4 separate regions of the Homo sapiens genome follow, and regions 2, 3 and 4 are each linked to region 1. The links are contacts of gene promoters, found by promoter capture Hi-C in blood cells and fetal thymus (Javierre and others, 2016). All regions are on one chromosome and are shown on one strand. The core of a region is centred on a gene start or on the middle of the fragment in contact, and the rest is flanking DNA. Distances in the headings are between cores, read along the strand shown. Region 1 holds the start of ADCY4 (adenylate cyclase 4). Region 2 overlaps LOC101927045 (a long non-coding RNA gene). Region 3 overlaps NEDD8-MDP1 (NEDD8-MDP1 readthrough). Region 4 overlaps NYNRIN (NYN domain and retroviral integrase containing).

Region 1 (4,564 bases), core at 539-3,038:
CCCTGTTCAATTCTTCCACCAGACTCCTCCTCCAGACCTATATCTAGATTCAGGGTACTTTGTGGAGGGGAGGGGAGAAGATGATCTAACTCAACCTTCTCATTTCATAAATGGGAAAACCGACACCCCCTGAGAAAGGAGCCCTCTGAGGTCACACAACAAAGCTTGGATTTGTCCCTGAATCTTCTAACTTTCCACAACACCAGCTCTGTGAGCCCCCTAAGTTCCATTGTTTCAGCAGTCCAGAGGACCTCCCAGCAAAAAAGATCAGGGTCTCAAATGTCAATTGCCACTCTCTAGAGCTTCTGCTAACACAATTCTGGAGAGGAGCTCTGAGGGGAGGAGCACAGGGCACACCTTGACACAGCCACTGACAAGTAGAGACTTCATACTCCCCACCCACCCCCAACTTGGCCTTTCTGACAGCTAAACCCTCCTGCCACCATCACTATTTCTCTTAAAGGGCGACCGCTCGTTAACATATACAACTGCTCTGGGGTGCAAGTTGGAGACAACAACTACTTGACTATGCAACAGACAACTGCCTTGCCCACATGGGGCTTGGCACCTTCGGGCAAGGGGAGGGGCTTGCAGCACCCCCCACCAGTAGGTTCGCAAGAAGGCCCTAAAGATCCTGAAGCCTGGAGCAGGCCACAGGGTTGGTATAATCATAGCGGGAAATAAAGCACCTTCCAAGCTTGCCTCCAAGAGTTACGAGTTAAGGAAGAGTGCCACCCCTTGAGGCCCCTGACTTCCTTCTAGGGCAGTCTGGCCTGCCCACAAACTGACTTTGTGACCTGTCCCCCAGGAGTCAATAAACATGATGGAATGCTAGTCAGTCTGAGCTCAGCCAGGGGCAGGGAGGGACTGGGATGGGGGTGGGAGCTGCCAGTGAGGGATAGGGAGGCACCACAGCTCTGCTATGGCAGGAAGTGGGGATGCTGGGGGCTGGGAGTGGGCAATGGCCTGGCACACAAGGTCAGGGCACAGCCGGCTACAACAGGAAGGAATCCTAGAGGCCTGGTTCCCCAGACCACTCTCTAATCTCAGGGCAGTGCTTCCTCTAAAGCCTAGGATGGCGACCCCACCCTAACCCTAAACTCTGGGGATAGAGGCTGTGGTCCCTTTTCTTCCGGGCTCTCAAGACTCACTTGCAGGGCTCTGGCGAGGGATGAGTTGATGTGAAAGATCACAGACCTGGCCCCGCACGGTGCCCCCAGGCTCTTAGAGATCATGACGCCACATACCTGCCTCCACCACACACTCAGGTTGCTTCCTGGACATTGCTTCCCTTTTGATTCCCAGTTGCTGTTCGGGAGTGGAAAGCTATGGCTCCTAAAGCTATACACAGGCGCAACCCCTCCCACGGAGCATGAACAGTTCAAACCCGGTGGTAGTGGTTGCCAGCCAAGCGGAGAGGTCAAGAGAATGAGCGCCCCCAACTCTGACCTAGATCCCCACCAGGACCCACATTCTTCCCTACATTCTCGCCAGGCTTCAGCCCCCCGCCCTCGGTCTCCCCACTACCAAACGTTCACCTCCATTTGGACACATCCCATTGGGTCCACCCCAGCCCACCCCTTCGCATCTCTCCCAGGGTCCACATTGCCCTTCCCTGAAGGGGCTGAAGCGGGGAGGCGATGGTGTTAGGAGAGACAAAACCAAGTGCGGGAGGAGACCAGGGGAGTCCGGCTTTGGCACAGGAAGGGGCCGGGCTGTCCCGTCGGGGAAGTGGGAGGGGGCCGCGGCGCCGGGAGGGAAGCGCCTGTCGCCCGGGACTCTGAGCCAGAGCGCAGCGGCGAGCGTGACTCCGCCATCAGGTCCCCGGCTCCCTCCCCGGACCTAGCCCACTCCGCTGCGCCAGCGCCGCGGGCAGTGAGTTCGGGGATCAGGGGAACCCGGGGCTCCCTCGCACCAACCCCAAATCCTGCCCTCCTGGCGATGAGGCTTTTCTAGGGCACCTCTACAATCCGGGTTTGAGGGAGGAGGAGGAAAGGACTGAGGGATCCCCTCATCGCCAGCTGGGAGCGGGCTGGGAGGCCGCAGGGAGGGCCTGAAAAAGGAGACGGGATTGCCACGAGGTTGGGGGCGCGGGGTGGTAGCGGCTTTGAGCGGGTGAGAAAAGCTCAGGTGGGGCCCGCCGGGCCGAAGGAGGTAACCCGGCGCCCGGCCCTAGCCAGCCCCGGGGCTCGGGGCTGGGGAGATCATGGCCCGCCTCTTCAGCCCCCGGCCGCCCCCCAGCGAAGACCTCTTCTACGAGACCTACTACAGCCTGAGCCAGCAGTACCCGCTGCTGCTGCTGCTGCTGGGGATCGTGCTCTGTGCGCTCGCGGCGCTGCTCGCAGTGGCCTGGGCCAGCGGCAGGGTGAGCCGAGCCTCTGCTGCGGGAGGGTCTCTACCTGGGGAGCATTTTCGGGGTTGGGGTTTGTGGGGTCTTCTTTTCGATGTGTTTTCGTTGCTGGGAGCAGAGAAAGAAAGGACCATTGAGCCTGGCTAGGAACTGCAGTGACCCTGGGCAAGTCACTCTACCCTTCTGGGTCTGCTCAGGGAGAAAGCTGAGTCCTGGATGCTTCTCGTTTCTGTCCGGGTTCTGACAGACTTTATGAACATCCGTGGTCTACGGGTTCTACAATAAATCCATCACCGGATTTTCCAGTTTTCCAAAGGGGAAATTCTAGGAGGCCCCTGGGGAATTCATTTCCTGCCTTTCTCTCCCTCTTAGGGGATGTAGAGCAGTTGTACCCACAGACTCCCAGAAGGCACCCTCCACCGGGCTCTCACTGAGTCCCAAAGTAAACCCATGTCCAGTTTCTGTTTGGGGAGGAAGAAGGTCTTCAATCCAATTCTAGAAATGGCCTGCCCCTGGTTTTCTTTTCACTGCTTGGAGGCAAGGTGGGAAAATCACCGGGCGCGGCCAATCCTTGCTGGTCCACGCCTAAATCCGGGAAGAGGTGGGGACAAAATGCTGGGACGGCTGTGCAGCTTCTGCTTGGAGTTGAGGCAGGTGGCGAGATCGCAGCCCTGGTGGCCAGGGAGGTGCGGGACGCCGCGGGTCCTGGCGCCCCCTGCTGCTCGAGCGCTGCCTCGCGCCGCCCTTCAAGCTGCCGGCCGCGGTCCCCGGCTCCGGGAATCTCCCGAGCAAATTGGCCAGATTTGGAGACATTCATTCCGAAGTGCCTCCTTGTGAGCTTGGATCTATCTTTCACTTGCTTCATGACGCTTTGGTTCCCGTTTGACAGATAAGAAAACTGAGGCTCAGAAACAAATAGGGGATGGGAGCCAGATCTTCTGGGTAGCTGTCCCAGCAAGATAATAGGTTGGACAACAGGAGGCTGGGCGCTGTGGCTCACGCCTGTAATCCCAGCACTTTGGGAGGCCAAGGCGGGAGATCGTTTGAGCCCAGGAGCTCGAGACCAGCCTGGGCAACTTGGCGAGACCCTGTCTTCTACTAAAAATACAAAAAAAAAAAAATTAGCTGGGCGTGGTGGCGGGAGCCTGTAATCCCAGCTACTCGGGAGGCTGAGGCATGAGAATCACTTGAACCCGGGAGGCAGAGGTTGCAGTAAGCCGAGATCGCGCCACTGAACTCCAGCCTGGGCGACAGAGCAAGACTCTGTCTCAAAAAACAAACCAACCAACCAACAAAAACCATACGAGACTGCTGAGTCTAGATAAAAGCAGTAGGACACAAGCAATTTCAAATGGTTCAACCTAAAGTGAATGGCAAGCGGAGGTGCCTTGCCTCCTTTTCGTACTTAGGCTTGAGACACCTTTCAGAACTGGGCTGAGGGGCTGGGCTGCTGGCTTTTCCTTTATCAGGTTCGTTCCTTCTCCCTGTCACAATCTTGCCTCACACACCCCTGCCCACAGGAGCTGACCTCAGACCCGAGCTTCCTGACCACTGTGCTGTGCGCGCTGGGCGGCTTCTCGCTGCTGCTGGGCCTCGCTTCCCGGGAGCAGCGACTGCAGCGCTGGACGCGTCCCCTGTCCGGCTTGGTATGGGTCGCGCTGCTAGCGCTAGGCCACGCCTTCCTGTTCACCGGGGGCGTGGTGAGCGCCTGGGACCAGGTGAGAGGGGCGGCAGGCGGGGCAGCGGGGACGGCCCGGGCTTCGATCCCTCACCAGGCCTTGAATAGCCCCACTTGGGCCTTCGGCTTCCCGCGCCCCGCCCCCAGGTGTCCTATTTTCTCTTCGTCATCTTCACGGCGTATGCCATGCTGCCCTTGGGCATGCGGGACGCCGCCGTCGCGGGCCTCGCCTCCTCACTCTCGCATCTGCTGGTCCTCGGGCTGTATCTTGGGCCACAGCCGGACTCACGGCCTGCACTGCTGCCGCAGGTGAGCACGCAAGTAGCACAGGCTGCGCTCAGGACGGCTCTGCCACGTGCTAGTAGGCTCCTTTTAGGGGGTTGTTGAGCTGTGACTCCAAGTCAAGGTGCAACGCTGGGCGCAGGATACCCAACCGTGCTTTCGCAGAGCTGGTACAACAGTGTGATGCAATGCCTGCTGTTACCAGAAGAGGGATCCAGGCCACACGGAAGGGAGTCGTGTCGTGGTTTACCCCG
Region 2 (4,584 bases), core at 1,299-3,798, 110 kb before region 1:
GAGACTCCGTCTCAAAAAAAAAAAAAAAGAAAGAAAGAAAGAAGAAAAGAAAATCTAGAAGAAATGGATAAATTCCTGGACACATACACCCTCCCAAGACTAAACCAGGAAGAAGTTGAATCCCTGAATAGACCAATAACAGGCTCTGAAATTGAGGCAATAATTAATAGCCTACCAACCAAAAAAAGTCCGGGACCAGACGGATTCAAAGCCAAATTCTACCAGAGGTACAAAGAGGAGCTGGTACCATTCCTTCTGAAACTATTCCAATCAATAGAAAAAGACAGAATCCTCTCTAACTCATTTTATGAGGCCAGAATCATCCTGATACCAAAGCCGGGCAGAGACAACAACAAAATAGAATTTTAGACCAATATCCCTGATGAACATCAATGCAAAAATCCTCAATAAAATACTGGCAAACCACATCAAAAAGCTTATCCACCACGATCAAGTTGGCTTCATCCCTGGGATGCAAGTCTGGTTCAACATACACAAATCAATAAACGTAATCCATCATATAAACAGAACCAAAGACAAAAACCACATGATTATCTCAATAGATGCAGATAAGGCCTTAGACAAAATTCAGCAGCCCTACATGCCAAAAAACTTTCAATAAACTAGGTATTGATGGGATGTATCTCAAAATAATAAGAGCTATTTATGACAAACCCACAGCCAATATCAAACTGAATGGGCAAAAACTGGAAGCATTCCCTTTGAAAACTGGTACAAGACAGGGATGCCCTCTCTCACCACTCCTATTCAACATAGTGTTGGAAGTTCTGGCCAGGGTAATCAGGCAGGAGAAATAAATAAAGAGATATTCAATTAGGAAAAGAGGAAGTCAAATTGTCCCTGTTTGCAGATGACATGATTGTATATTTAGAAAACCCCACCGTCTCAGCCCAAAATCTCCTTAAGCTGATAAGCAACTTCAACAGTCTCAGGATACAAAATCAATGTGCAAAAATCACAAGCATTCCTAAACACCAATAACAGACAAAGAGAGAGCCAAATCATGAGTGAACTCCCATTCACAATTGCTTCAAAGAGAATAAAATACCTAGGAATACAACTCACAAGGGATGTGAAGGACCTCTTCAAGGAGAACTACAAACCACTGCTCAATGACATAAAAGGGGACACAAACAAATGGAAGAACATTCCATGCTCATGGATAGGAAGAATGAATATCATCGAAATGGCCATACTGCCCAAGGTAATTTACAGATTTAATGCCATCCCCATCGAGCTGCCAATGACTTTCTTCACAGAATTGGAAAAAACTACTTTAAGGCTCATATGGAACCAAAAAAGAGGCCGCATTGCCAAGACAATCCTAAGCCAAAAGAACAAAGCTGGAGGCATCATGCTACCTGACTTCAAACTATACTACAAGGCTACAGTAACCAAAACAGCAGCGTACTGGTACCAAAACAGAGAGATAGACCAATGGAACAGAACAGAGCCCTCAGAAATAATACCACACATCTACCACCATCTGATCTTTGACAAACCTCACAAAAACAAGAAACAGGGAAAGGATTCCCTATTTAATAAATGGTGCTGGGAAAACTGGCTAGCCATATGTAGAAAGCTGAAACTGGATCCCTTCCTTACACCTTATATAAAAATTAATTCAAGATGGATTAAAGACTTAAATGTTAGACCTAAAACCATAAAAACCCTAGAAGAAAACCTAGGCAATACCATTCAGGACATAGGCATGGGCAAGGACTTCATGTCTAAAACACCAAAAGCAATGGCAAAAAAAGCCAAAATAGACAAATGGGATCTAATTAAACTAAACAGCTTCTGCACAGCAAAAGAAACTACTATGAGAGGGAACAGGCAACCTACAGAATGGGAGAAAATTTTTTGCAATCCACCCATCTGACAAAGGGCTGATATCCAGAATCTACAATGAACTCAAACAAATTCACAAGAAAAAATCAAACAACCCCATCAAAAAGTGGGTGAAGGATATGAACAGACACTTCTCAAAAGAAGACATTTATGCAGCCAACAGACACATGAAAAAATGCTCATTATCACTGGCCATCAGAGAAATGCAAATCAAAACCACAATGAGATACCATCTCACACCGGTTAGAATGGCAATCATTAAAAAGTCAGGAAACAACAGGTGCTGGAGAGGATGTGGAGAAATAGGAACACTTTTACACTGTTGGTGGGAGTGGAAACTAGTGTGGAAGGGAGTGTGGTGATTCCTCAAGGATCTAGAACTAGAAATACCATTTGACCCAGCAATCCCATTACTGGGTATATACCCAAAGGATTATAAATCATGCTACTATAAAGACACGTGCACATGTATGTTTACTGTGGCACTATTCACAATAGCAGAAACTTGGAACCAACCCAAATGTCAATCAATGATAGACTGGATTAAGAAAATGTGGCACATATACACCATGGAATACTATGCATCCATTAAAAAGGATGATCCATTGTAGGGACATGGATGAAGCTGGAAACCATCATTCTGAGCAAATTCTCGCAAGGACAAAAAACCAAACACTGCATGTTCTCACTCATAGGTGGGAACTGAACAATAAGAATGCTTGGACACAGGGTGGGGAACATCACACACCGGGGCCTATTGTGGGGTGGGTGTGGGGGGAGGGATAGCATTAGGAGGAATACCTAATGTAAATGATGAGTTAATGGATGCAGCACACCAACATGGCACATGTATACATATGTAACAAACCTGCACATTGTGCACATGTACCCTAGAACTTAAAGTACAATAAAAAATTTTTTGAATTAAAAAAATTTTAATTTTTCAAAGTTCAGGTTGGTTCTTTTATCAATTCTGCTGGTATTTTTTGATAGCATCTTGTCTCTTTCTCATGTTTTTAATTTCTTCTCTTTCTTAAACGTTTTAAACTTTGGTAATTTTATATTCTATACCTCTAAATTCTAACACTTTAAATCTTTGTCTAAATCTGCTGTTTTCTGTTTCGGTTTGGTTTGATTTTATTTGACACCCTCAGAGTGCTTTGTTTCCTTGTGTGTTTTGTAATTTTGTATTGTATGTTTATGCTTGGCAGGATTTTATCTATTGAAATCCTGTGAAACCAAACCAAGGGAAGATTTATGTCTTCTATCTGGAACACTTAATTTAAATTCTTGGGTTAGAGCTTTCTAGGCCAAGTAGGTAACAATTAATTCAAACCACAAATATGCAGGCGGACAGGACAATAGATACAACTTCTCAAAGAACGGTAATTTTTTTGACAACCAATCCTAGACAAGAGCAAAGCCTAGAGAAACAAGTTTCCAGGCCATGTTCTTTGATACCAGGTGGACTTTTAAAGTTTACTTTTTATCTGAGAACACAGCCCAAGGGCTTTATCCAGGGGTCTCAGTCCCAAATTTGCTTCGATCTCAGGCATGGTCTCCTGTCACCCAAGCCTCTGGGTTACTGAAACTAAAAGTCACAAAATACCTGTTAAAGAAAATTATTCAGTGACACTTGATAGAGTAAGGTAAGGAAGACTTTCCATCACAATAGGTACAGGTACCACTACAATGTGGTCTTGCAGTGGGAGAGATTGGGGTCAAGTATGAAACAACATGGGCAAGTGGGAATTTATAGCCAACGAATACGGTGGGGGTCAGTGGATGAAAAATTAGTAAGAGAAAAATATCAAGGGTAAGAGGGATTCTGGCTAACCCAAACTAACGGGATTCATGTGAAGATAGGCCAAGGTGATCAGACATCACCTAGGGGATGAAGGATGAGGGGCCTGATCAGAGATTGAGAGTGATCAGATATCAAGGGTTGAGGGGGTTCTTGCTAAACTGACTTAGCAAGGCTCTTTGCGAAAACTGGATTTTACAAAGAGGTGTACAAATGAGCCTAGAAGGTTCAGAAGCCTGACTAAAGTTTGGCCAAGCAAATAATCTTTGTCATAACCTCAGTCCCAAGACACATTTCATTTTTTGGCTTCTGGGATTTTTTTATTTTTCTAGCTAACTTGGCAATACATTTAAATGGAGGTATGTTTAATTTTATCCAGCATATCCAGGAATTTTAAACTGGGAGTTTTTTAAACTATACGTGCCACTATAATGTTCCCCTCATATGGTTTTCAAAGATCACTCAGCTTGCAATGTGTGAAATAGTTTGGAGAGGAGAAACATGCAAAAGCAGGAAGACCTACTAGGAGACTACTGCAGATATTTACACAAGACAGAATAACTCATAAGACGATTGTGATGGCAGAGACAGAGGGAAATATGAGGAAATTTCAAAATGTTGTGGAAAAATCAATTAAAAGATTAAAAAATATAAAATATAAACTTTATTTCTCAACATAAGTTCCACCAACTTCAAGACACTTTCGTAAGAAATGACACCAGCCATTTAGTACACCCTAAAGAACTGAGGGTCCTGGAGACTTAACCACATCAATACAGTCCTTTTTACATTATTAACTGAAGAAAACTGGGTGCCCTTGACAGAATTTCTTAAGATTAAGAAACAAAAAGAAGTCAGAAGGAGCCAAATCAGGTGGATGCCTAAAGATTTCCCATTGAAACTCTAAC
Region 3 (5,003 bases), core at 1,096-3,595, 110 kb after region 1:
GGCGGGCGCCTGTAGTCCCAGCTACTCTGGAGGCTGAGGCAGGAGAATGGCGTGAACCCGGGAGGTGGAGCTTGCAGTGAGCCGAGATCGTGCTACTGCACTCCAGCCTGGGCGACAGAGCGAGACTCTGTCTCAAAAAAATAAAAATAAAAATAATAAAAAATACAAAATACAAAAATTAGCCAGGCGTAGTGACACGCGGCTGTAACCCCAGCTACTTGGGAGGCTGAGGCAGGAGAATTGCTTGAGCCTGGGAGGCGGAGGTTGTGGTGAGCCAGATGATGCCACAGCACTCCAGTCTGGGTGACAGACTGAGACCTTGCCTCAAAAAAAAAAAAAATTTTTTTTTTTTTCCAAAAAAGAATTAGCCAGGCATGGTGGTGTGTGCTTGTAGTCCCAGCTATTCAGAATGCTGAGGTGGGATGATACTTTCAGCCCAGGAGTTGGAGGCTGCAGTGAGCCATGATTACTCCACTGTGTTCCAGGCTGGGACACAGAGCAAGACTCCATCTCAAATAAATAAATAAATAAATAAATATAAAAAACTTTTAAGTATGTTTAGAACAAGTTGGGTGTATAAATCTACTTTTTCTATTGTAAATTATGAAACTTAAATATATGTCAAGTATTTCAGATGAAAATTTACCATTTGAATTTTTTTGTTTTTCTGGGTTTTTTTTGGAGATAGGGTCTCCCTCTGTCACCCAAGCTGGAGTGCAGTGGCACAATCAGCCCACTACGGCATTGAACTCCTGGGCTTGGGCAGTCTTGCCTCAGCCTTCTGAGTACCCAGTTGCTGGGACTACAGGCCTGTGCCACTATGCCTGGCTAATTTTATTGTAGAGATGGGGATCTCACTATGTTGCCCAGGCTGGTCTCAAAACTCCAAGCCTCAAGCAGTACTCCCACATCCCCTTCCCAAAGTGTTGAGATTACAGGCATATGCTACCATGCCCAGCCTACCATCTCTATTTTTTTTTTTTTTTTTTTTTTTGAAATGCAGTCTTGCTCTGTTGCCCAGGCTGGAGTGCAGTGGCATGATCTCAGCTCACCGTAACCTCCGCCTCCTGGGTTCAGGCGATTCTCCTGCCTCAGCCTCCCCAGTAGCTGGGACTACAGGCGCCCACCACCATGCCCAACTAATCTTTGTATTTTTAGTAGAGATGGGGTTTCACTGTGTTGGCCAGGCTGGTCTCAAACTCCTGACCTCGTGATCCGCCCCCTCGGCCTCCTAAAGTGCTAGGATTACAGGTGTGAGCCACCGCACCCAGCCCCATCTCTACATGTGATGTAAATATGAAATACAGGATTTTTAGGATTTGGTTAGAAAAAACATAAAATATATTAATTTTTATATTGATTACATGTGAATAATATTTTGGCTATGTTGGGTTTAAAAATATTAAAATTTTACCTCTTAAAGAACTTTTACAATATGGCTACTAGTAAATTTAAAAATTGCATGTATGGCTTGTATTATATTTCTACAAGGCAGTGCTGCTTTACAAAATCTTACCCTTATCAAGGACATTGTTTTTTAAATAATTTGTTCTCATTACAGCATATTCACATTTGTGGTATAAAAAATGGAAAATACAGAAAAGCATAATAATGTAATTAAAATCACCCATAATTCCACTGCTCAAGTTAAAGCATTAATATACTGTATATACCCTTCCAAGCTTTTTGGAGAGCATATAGATGCATGTGTTGTTTTTACAAAATTTTAATTATACTCTATATACTATAACTTTTTTGTTAAATTATCAGCATATTGTTAATATATTACAAATAGTTATCCTAAACATTGTTTGAGGGATTTGTAATTTTTTTTCTATGATTGTACCATAATTTATTTAACCCTCAACTGTTTGATATTTAGATTGTGTTTCTAATTTTACAGTATCAAAAGGTTGCAATAACCATTGTTGTAGGTATACTTTTGGACATAGTCATGAGTATTTTCCTGGAAGTATTGTTGCTGGGACACCATATTGCCAAATTGCTCTCTAGATATATTTATGGGCCTCTACAGTCGATTTCAGAAACAAAGGGCCAGCTCTAGACTTTTAGAATTTACAAACCAATAATCCTTTTTAAAAATATAAGGTCCAAGCATTTTGCTCTTGGGAGAGCAGCTCTAGGTCTTCTCTGAGAGTCTTTTTTCACTCTTTAAAAATTTGTGGTCGGGTGCGGTGGCCCACATCTATAATCCCAGCACTTTGGGAGGCCGAGGCAGGCAGATCACCTGAGGTCGGGAGTTCAAGACCAGCCTGACCAATATGGAGAAACCCTTCTCTACTAAAAATACAAAATTAGCCAGGTGTGGTGGTGCATGCCTGTAGTCCCAGCTACTTGGGAGGCTGAGATAGGAGAATTGCTTGAACCTGGGAGGCAGAGGTTGCAGGGTGAGCTGAGATTGTGCCGTTGCACTCCAGCCTGGGCAGCAAGAGTAAAACTCCATCTCAAAATAAATAAATAAATAAAAATTTGTATTATCGGCCAGGCACGGTGGCTCATGCCTATAATCCCAGCACTATGGGAGGCTGAGGCAGGTGGATCACTTGAGGTCAGGAGTTCGAGACCAGCCTGGGCAACATGGCAAAACCCCATCTCTACTAAAAATACAAAATGTAGTCAGGCGTGGTGGTGCCCGCCTGTGATGCCAGCTACTCAAGAGGCTGAGGTGGGGATCACCTGAGCCCAGTATGTCGAGGCTGCGGTGAGCCATGATTGCACCATTGCACTCCATCCGGGTGAGACTGAGACCCCGTCTCAAAAAAAAAAAAAAAGAAAGTGAAATAATTTGTGGACAACACAGAATTACAAACTTTTTATTTTGTCTTTTTAAAGTTACCACAAATTGTCACCACCATTCTCTGAAAGGACATTAACACCTGAATATATTTAGTTTCATGAAAATTTCACTTTTAACACTGCTTTTCTCATTTTACCATAGGCTGCTGAAAATTTTCACACAGACCAGCATAGGTTAGGGTAGAAGCTTGAGAATCACTGCTGTAATTTATTCTTTCATATCCAAACAGGTTAATCCAAAGGAATTGTTCTTGTATTTTTGGAAACATACTAGTACTAAATCATTCTCCTTGTTGGGAAATTTTCTGAGTTCTTGTTTCGTGCTGTTCTATGTGAATACCATAAGGAGAAACCATATGTTATTTTGTGAGCTACTATAGGAGTGTACATTGGGTCCCAATACTAGACCAGCCAGACTCAGGTAGGACGGAGTACAGAAATAAAAGCACAGGCTCTGGGACCAGGGAATCTGGATCCAATCTCTACTTTTGATTGCGTAGATGTGTTTTTAACCTAAGGCTTATTTTTCTCATCTATAAAATGGAAATAGTAATAGTCCATATCTCATAAATACTGGGAGGATTAAATGTGATGCATGTAAGATGCTGATCATAGTTACTGACCCTTAGAAAGTGTTCAATGGCTGGGCAAGGTGGCTCATGCCTGTAATCCCAGCTCTTTGGGAGGCCGAGGCAGGAGGATCACTTGAGCCCATGAGTTTGAAACCAGCCTGAGCAACACAGAACTCGTCTCTACAAAAAAATCTTAAAAATAGCTGAGTGTGGTGGTGCACACACCCTGTAGTCCTTGCTACTTAGGAGGCTGAGGTGGGAGGGTTGTTTGAACCCAGGAGGTCAAGGCTGCAGTGAGCCAGGATCACACCACTGAACTCCAGCCTGCTTGATACAGTGAGACCCTGTCTCTTAAAAAAATAAAAGGAAAAAAATAGTTTTCAGTAAATGTTAGCTGTGATTATAATATGATCATCAGTATATTTAGCCCTTCAAAAATATTCATTGACTGCTTGTGTGTCAAACACTAGGAAAGTTTAACACTTAAACAACTAGCTGTAATTGGTATATTAATATTGGAAGTATTAATAAAGTACACTGGGAACAGGTCTACACATCATACAGGAGGTTTTATACATTGCTGGAGTGCAATGGCACAATCTCAGCTCACCGCAACTTCTGCCTCCTGGGTTCAAGAGATTCTCCTGCCTCAGCCTCCTGAGTAGTTGGGATTACAGGCATGCGCCACCACGCCTGGCTAATTTTGTATTTTTTAATAGAGAAGGCTTTCTCCATGTTGGCCAGGCTGGTCTTGAACTCCCAACCTCAGGTAATCCACCCACCTCAGCTTCCCAAAGTGCTGGGATTACAGGCATGAGCCACTGTGCCCGGCCAGGAGGAGATCTTACATTTAAGGGGTCTTGAAGTTTGGAGAAGAAGGGGAGGATATTGCAACAAGGAAAATAACGGAAGCAAAGAAATGCCCATAAATTAGAATGAGCATGGTGTGTTTGTGGCCTGGATCACTGTAGACTAATACAGATAGAGCTATTAAGAGCAAGGACAGATGGGAGAAGACACAACATTTATGACTGCATAATCAGTATAATTATTGTATTTGGATATCACCAGCCCTTAACTTACGGAAGAAGACAAGAGCTGCAATTTAGGATTTAGGTAGAAGTCTGGAAAGATATGGGAGATGTAATGTTGACTTCTTGTCTTCTTTTCTCTTTTTTCTTTTACTTTCTTTTTTTTTTTTTTTTTTTTTTTTTTGCGAGGGTGTTGCCCAGGCTGGAGTACAGTGGCACAATCGTGGCTTACTGCTGCTGCCTCTAATTTCTGGACTCAAGTGATCCTCCCACCTCAGCCTCCCAAATAGCTGGTACTACAGGCATGCACCACTGTACTCAGCTAATTTTTGTTGTTGTTGTTGTTGTTGTTGTTGTTTTGGTTGAGACAGGGTTTCGCTGTGTTGTCCAGGCTGGTCTGGAACTCCTAGGCTCAAGTGATCCTCCCGCCTCAGTCTCCCAAGGTGTTGGGATTGCAGGTGTGAGCCACCATGCCCAGCCAATTCTAGCATTTTTTAAAAAACTGCTGAGATGATTTCTGGTGTCCTTGAGAATTCTTCAAATTATCTGAATATTAATTTCTAGCATTGATATTTAGAACAAG
Region 4 (4,422 bases), core at 1,369-3,868, 74 kb before region 1:
TTTCCAGAGCCCTGCCCAGGGCTCCATCCACATCAGCCATGCACAGACCTCCACCAGTGCCGGGGCTCCGAGGGAGGAAAAGACTAAAGCAGTCTGGAGACATGAGCCTCAACCGAAACGGGCACCCAAAACCCTGGGGAACCTCTCTGATGTTCACAGGTCATGGGGGAAGAATGCCTGTTAGCTAAGGCAGACGGACTCCAGAGTCCCAAAGTCAGAAACAACTCCGGGCTTGGGGAGAGCCAACCTCAAGCCCTTTCCTCAATGTGCCCATCCCTCTGCTGACAGATGCCCGTGCTCCACCCCACCCTCTGCACAACCGACACCCCCAACATGTTTGCCTCCATTTCCCCAGAGAAGACAGGCCGGACTCCACCTGACACACCAGCCAGGCCCAACTCCCTGAGCCCAGGAGGGCAGGCCTGGGGACCGGCACACCTATAATCGTAGGTGGTGATCTTCTTGCCATTCTCAAGCTGGGAGGGTGTGATTGAAAGCATCTTGAGCGAGTGTAGCTTCGTCAGAAAGTGGCTCTCTGGGGGTGAAAGGCAGAAGACAGAAATGGTCAAGGGAGGGCTAAGTGGAAATGGCCACTCTGGGGTGGCAGAGGGTCGGGGCAGCAAGGCAGAGAGAAGAAAGCTTGGTGACACTGTGGAGGCTGGGCAGGCAGGGGACACCTCACCTCTCACCCTCCGGTTCTTCTTCAGCTGCCAGGTGGGTACAAACACAGTGACCTCTCGGTGTCCCCGGTTCCAGAAAAACTGCACTGCCATGGCAATTCCTCGGCAGGAGAAGAAGTGCTGCAGGCCATGCCTGTGGGGTCGTGGGACAAGGAAAGACCCTGCCTCACCACTCCTCCCTCAGAGCCAGCCCTGGGGCAGCAAGCAAGCAATGCCAGCACCAAGGACACCAATGATGCCCTCTCCCCTTCCCTCCATACTCAGACATTCTGTGAGCACCTACTTGGTGCAGGGCACTGCCAGAAACTCTGTGTGTGTGCGCGTGCATGTGTGTGTGTGTGTGCATGTACCTGTGTGTACGCATGTGTGTAGGGACATTGAGGGCAAGAGGAAGAAGGCAGCCCCTCCACTCAGAGAGCTCAGTTGAGGGCTTAAAGCAAACAAAAATTCCCTGGCCACCGACAGTGTGCTGGGAGTGTGCTCTGCACAGATAACTACTCTATCATGTGGCAAATTATGTGGCATGCACATGTTTATGCTAACACCTCTACAGCAGTAAGTACTGTGGAGGAAGGGCAATCGCTAAGGGCCAGCAGAGTCAGGAAAAGAAATCTGTGCTGGGCCTTGAAGTTTGGGCTAAAAGTTTAAAAGCTGGCCTGGGAAGGGCATGGACCTTGGCAGTGGACACATCTGAGCCAAAAGGCCAGCTGGACCCCTTGCTGGCTCAGGGATCTTGGGCAAGATTTCCCACCTCTGAGCCTGCTTCAGCATCTATCAGACAGGGAAACCAGAAACCTGCCCTTGAGGGCTGCTATGAGGATTCCATGCACACTGCCTGGCACGCAGGAGCCATTCAACATGGATGGACCACTTCCCTCCCATCTCTTCCCCATGTCGCCCATAGGAAGGTTGGGAAGGGATGCCCACATTCTGTCCCCCAGGGATGCCCTGCCCCAGGTCCACAGCATCCCCAGCCCACCCCACGCCCGTGACTACTCACACCATGGCCACACTGCTGCCATCGATGACCACTCGCCGCAACCCCTGGTTTCCAGGTTCCCCTGACAGGTTCAGCTCGAAGGGTGTATTCAGGGCCTCGTGGTACCTCTGGAAGCTGGTCACTGTGCTGTTCGCTTGCAGGTGGCGAGGTGGCTGCCTTGGGGCCCCCTCCCAAGCCCCCAGGAGCCCCTCCATCTGAAACTGGTGCTTACTGCTGAGGGCCAAGGTGCCACTGGACTGGGGACCCTGCCTTCCAGCCTGCCCCTGGCCCTTCAGTAAGGAGACACTAGCCCTTGATGTAGGCTGGACCTCACTCAGAAGTCTGGCTACATCCAAGGTTGGCCCTGCATCCGTGGGCACCTTCTGAGCTGCAGGTGTTTTGGGAGCTCTGGAGACTCTGGGGGTCACAGGTACTTTGGGAGCTGCAGGTGCTTTGGAAGCTGCAGGTGCTTTGGAAACTGTAGCTGCAGGCCCGGCTTGAGCTTTGGGTGTTTTGGGACCTGCAGGTGATGTTTTTGCTACAGGCATCTTCTGAGCCTGGGGAGTTTTTGGAGTTGTGGGTTCCACTTGAGCTACCAACACTGGTTGATTCACAACTGTTTTTTGAGCTGTGGCCATCAGTTGAGCTGTTGGCTTTGTTGGAGCCAAAGGCACTTCGGGAGCTGCAGGCTCTGTGTGCACTGCCAGCATCATTCGAGATGTAGGCAGTTTGGGAGCTGCAGATGGCACTTGAGTTCTGGAGGGATTTTCAGCTTTGGGCACTGCTGCAGCCATGGGCACTTTGAGAGTTTCAGGCACTGTTTGAGCTCCAGGTACTGACTGATCTGTCAGCCCCCCTTGAGCCACGGGCTTCCCTTGCCCTGTTGGCAGCACTGGAGCGGGTCCCTCTTCCAGTCCCTTAAAATCTAACTGCATACTCCCTTGATCCCCCGGCTCACCTCCAGCCTGTAGTTGGGGTGTAGAGGTCAAGGGTGGCCCTATCTGTGGGAGATCCGAGCTAACTTTGTCTTTTACATCTGAGCTCCCAGGGACCACCAATAAACTCGTAACTTTTGGGGAAATCTCTGGCCTTGGGCAATTCTGCAGGGCTGCTTCTCCTCCCAGCCCCCCATCTGGTCTACCAGCTGGGCTTTCTGCACTAGGCAGAGGAGCCAGCTCCTTCTGCTTCCACTCCAGATTTAAGGGCAAAGGATTCTGCCCTGGCAGCTTCAACTGAATGGGGCCCAGAGGTCTCTGCCAGAAGGGGAAATTGAAGCACGCCTGGGACAGGAGCCAGGCCAGATGTAGAGAATGCAGCTCATTGATCCTCCAGAAGGTTGCAGCAATAGCCCCCGGCCACAATGGCCCAAAGGCTGGCCCCGGGGTCCAGGCCTTCCAGGGTGGGCACACACCCAGGGCTGATACTGGAGGTTGGAAGAGGAGTTTATCTTCTATCTTCTGGACCTGCCTTTGCTTCAACAAGGCTTGTGTGTGGTTCGTGGAGTCCTGGCTGCTGGTGGCTTGCACTGTCCCTTCCTCTTGAGCACTGTCCATACCATCTTGGTTGTTGGAACCGACCCTGGAGGAAGCCCAAGTTCATTGAAAAGGTGGAAGGCCAGTTTGGTCCCAAACTATTACTATTTCCTTAGGGTAGGGGAGCAGGGGTAGGATCAGAGAAGCCAGGCTCATTCTCCAGAACTTACCGTACCAGCTGGTTTGCTGCCTCCTGCGGTGTGCTCTGGGCTGTGATCAGGGACCCAGTGGCTCCCAGGCTAGATAATCTCTTTGAATTTTCTGGGCCCCTGTTCTGGAGGGTCCCCATGTCCACAAAGGGTCCAGGACTCTCTCCCACGGACACCATGGCTGGGGCTTCCTTCTGCTGCTGGGGAGGGCAGATTAGAACCTCCGGATCGGAGTGGGAGTCAGAGATGCCGAAGCGGCTGAGCCACTCGATGATGTCTTCCTTGCCCGCAGCATCCCGCACCAGGCTCAGCAGCAGCTCCTGGACCGCTGGGGGCAGCTGCAGTAGGTCCCCTGCATGCTGGTCACCACGGATCCAGACCAGGGCCCCAAAGGCCCGGGTCACCTCAGCCTCCCAGATCCCCCGGGGGGTCAGCAGAGGGGCAGGGCCCCAGCGCAGTCGCCCCACCAGCTCCTCCAGCCAGTTCTGTGTCATGATGAAAGACTCAGTCAGCCCGCCCACCATCAGGGAGCCAGGGGGGCCAGGCACCAGGTAGGCAAGGGTGCTCCAGCAGAGGCAGTCCAGGAAGAGGCCTTGGGCCCCAAGGAAGGCACAGTGCAGGATCGGTGGGTAGCGAACCTCTTTCCACAGCTCTGGGCTGCACAGGCCCTTCAGGTATTCCTGGGCACAATGGGGAGAACACAATGAAGTCAGCCCGTTGGGGGCCTGCCCCTGGATCTGCCCTCGCCACCCAAAAGGCCAGCCCCTCACTAACCATGTGGCCCCACCACTACCACCCCCCATCCACCATGAGCCAAATGACTCCCCCATGGCCAGCCACTCTCTCCCTGGTCCTGCACCCTCACACACCCATTTCTTTCCAGGGAACACCAACAGAACAGGGAAGCCTGGGAGAGAGGAGGGAAAGAACCCAGGTTGCAGCTCCAACTCGACCTCAACTGATTAGGTTAATTGTGGGGCATCTATCACCTTCTCAGCACCGCAGTCTCTTCACCAAGAAAAAGAAAGGTTAAACTGGATGCTCCTGAGGTCTAGTCCCAGTCTGGCATTCCTGAATTGTGT

Evidence for each region. Contacts are between HindIII fragments. The CHiCAGO score rates a contact against its expected background, and 5 or more counts as called.
Region 2: a contact is called between a fragment that was not itself captured here and the fragment with the promoter of ADCY4 in region 1, in 4 of 17 cell types (naive CD4 T cells, naive CD8 T cells, total B cells and 1 more). The highest score is 6.8, in naive CD4 T cells.
Region 3: a fragment that was not itself captured here is called in contact with the fragment with the promoter of ADCY4 in region 1 in 7 of 17 cell types (total CD8 T cells, naive CD8 T cells, naive CD4 T cells and 4 more); the score reaches 11.9 in total CD8 T cells.
Region 4: a contact is called between a fragment that was not itself captured here and the fragment with the promoter of ADCY4 in region 1, in 14 of 17 cell types (naive CD4 T cells, naive CD8 T cells, M1 macrophages and 11 more). The highest score is 12.2, in naive CD4 T cells.

Annotation. Positions count from the first base shown.
Region 1 is chr14:24,332,295-24,336,858 of GRCh38, reverse strand. It overlaps ADCY4 (adenylate cyclase 4), which reads left to right and starts at 1,788. Exons shown (of 25, transcript NM_001198568.2): 1 at 1,788-2,365; 2 at 3,871-4,068; 3 at 4,176-4,337. The coding sequence starts at 2,207. RIPK3 (receptor interacting serine/threonine kinase 3) reads left to right here. Exons shown (of 10, transcript NM_006871.4): 10 at 464-834. The coding sequence ends at 684. RefSeq lists silencers at 2,082-2,161, 2,232-2,391, 3,052-3,151. The HindIII fragment of the contact is 4,552 bases long and covers 700-4,564 here.
Region 2 is chr14:24,445,788-24,450,371 of GRCh38, reverse strand. The region is part of intron 2 of LOC101927045 (a long non-coding RNA gene); the gene reads right to left. Among named protein-coding and RNA genes, the nearest start is that of SDR39U1, 5.3 kb to the right of the region's middle. The HindIII fragment of the contact is 4,219 bases long and covers 439-4,584 here.
Region 3 is chr14:24,219,077-24,224,079 of GRCh38, reverse strand. All of the region lies in intron 1 of NEDD8-MDP1 (NEDD8-MDP1 readthrough), which reads left to right. The region is part of intron 1 of NEDD8 (NEDD8 ubiquitin like modifier); the gene reads left to right. Among named protein-coding and RNA genes, the nearest start is that of MDP1, 5.5 kb to the right of the region's middle. The HindIII fragment of the contact is 1,322 bases long and covers 1,685-3,006 here.
Region 4 is chr14:24,407,467-24,411,888 of GRCh38, reverse strand. NYNRIN (NYN domain and retroviral integrase containing) reads right to left here. Exons shown (of 9, transcript NM_025081.3): 3 at 3,362-4,020; 4 at 1,681-3,237; 5 at 683-813; 6 at 439-535. Among named protein-coding and RNA genes, the nearest start is that of NYNRIN, 11 kb to the right of the region's middle. The HindIII fragment of the contact is 3,953 bases long and covers 642-4,422 here.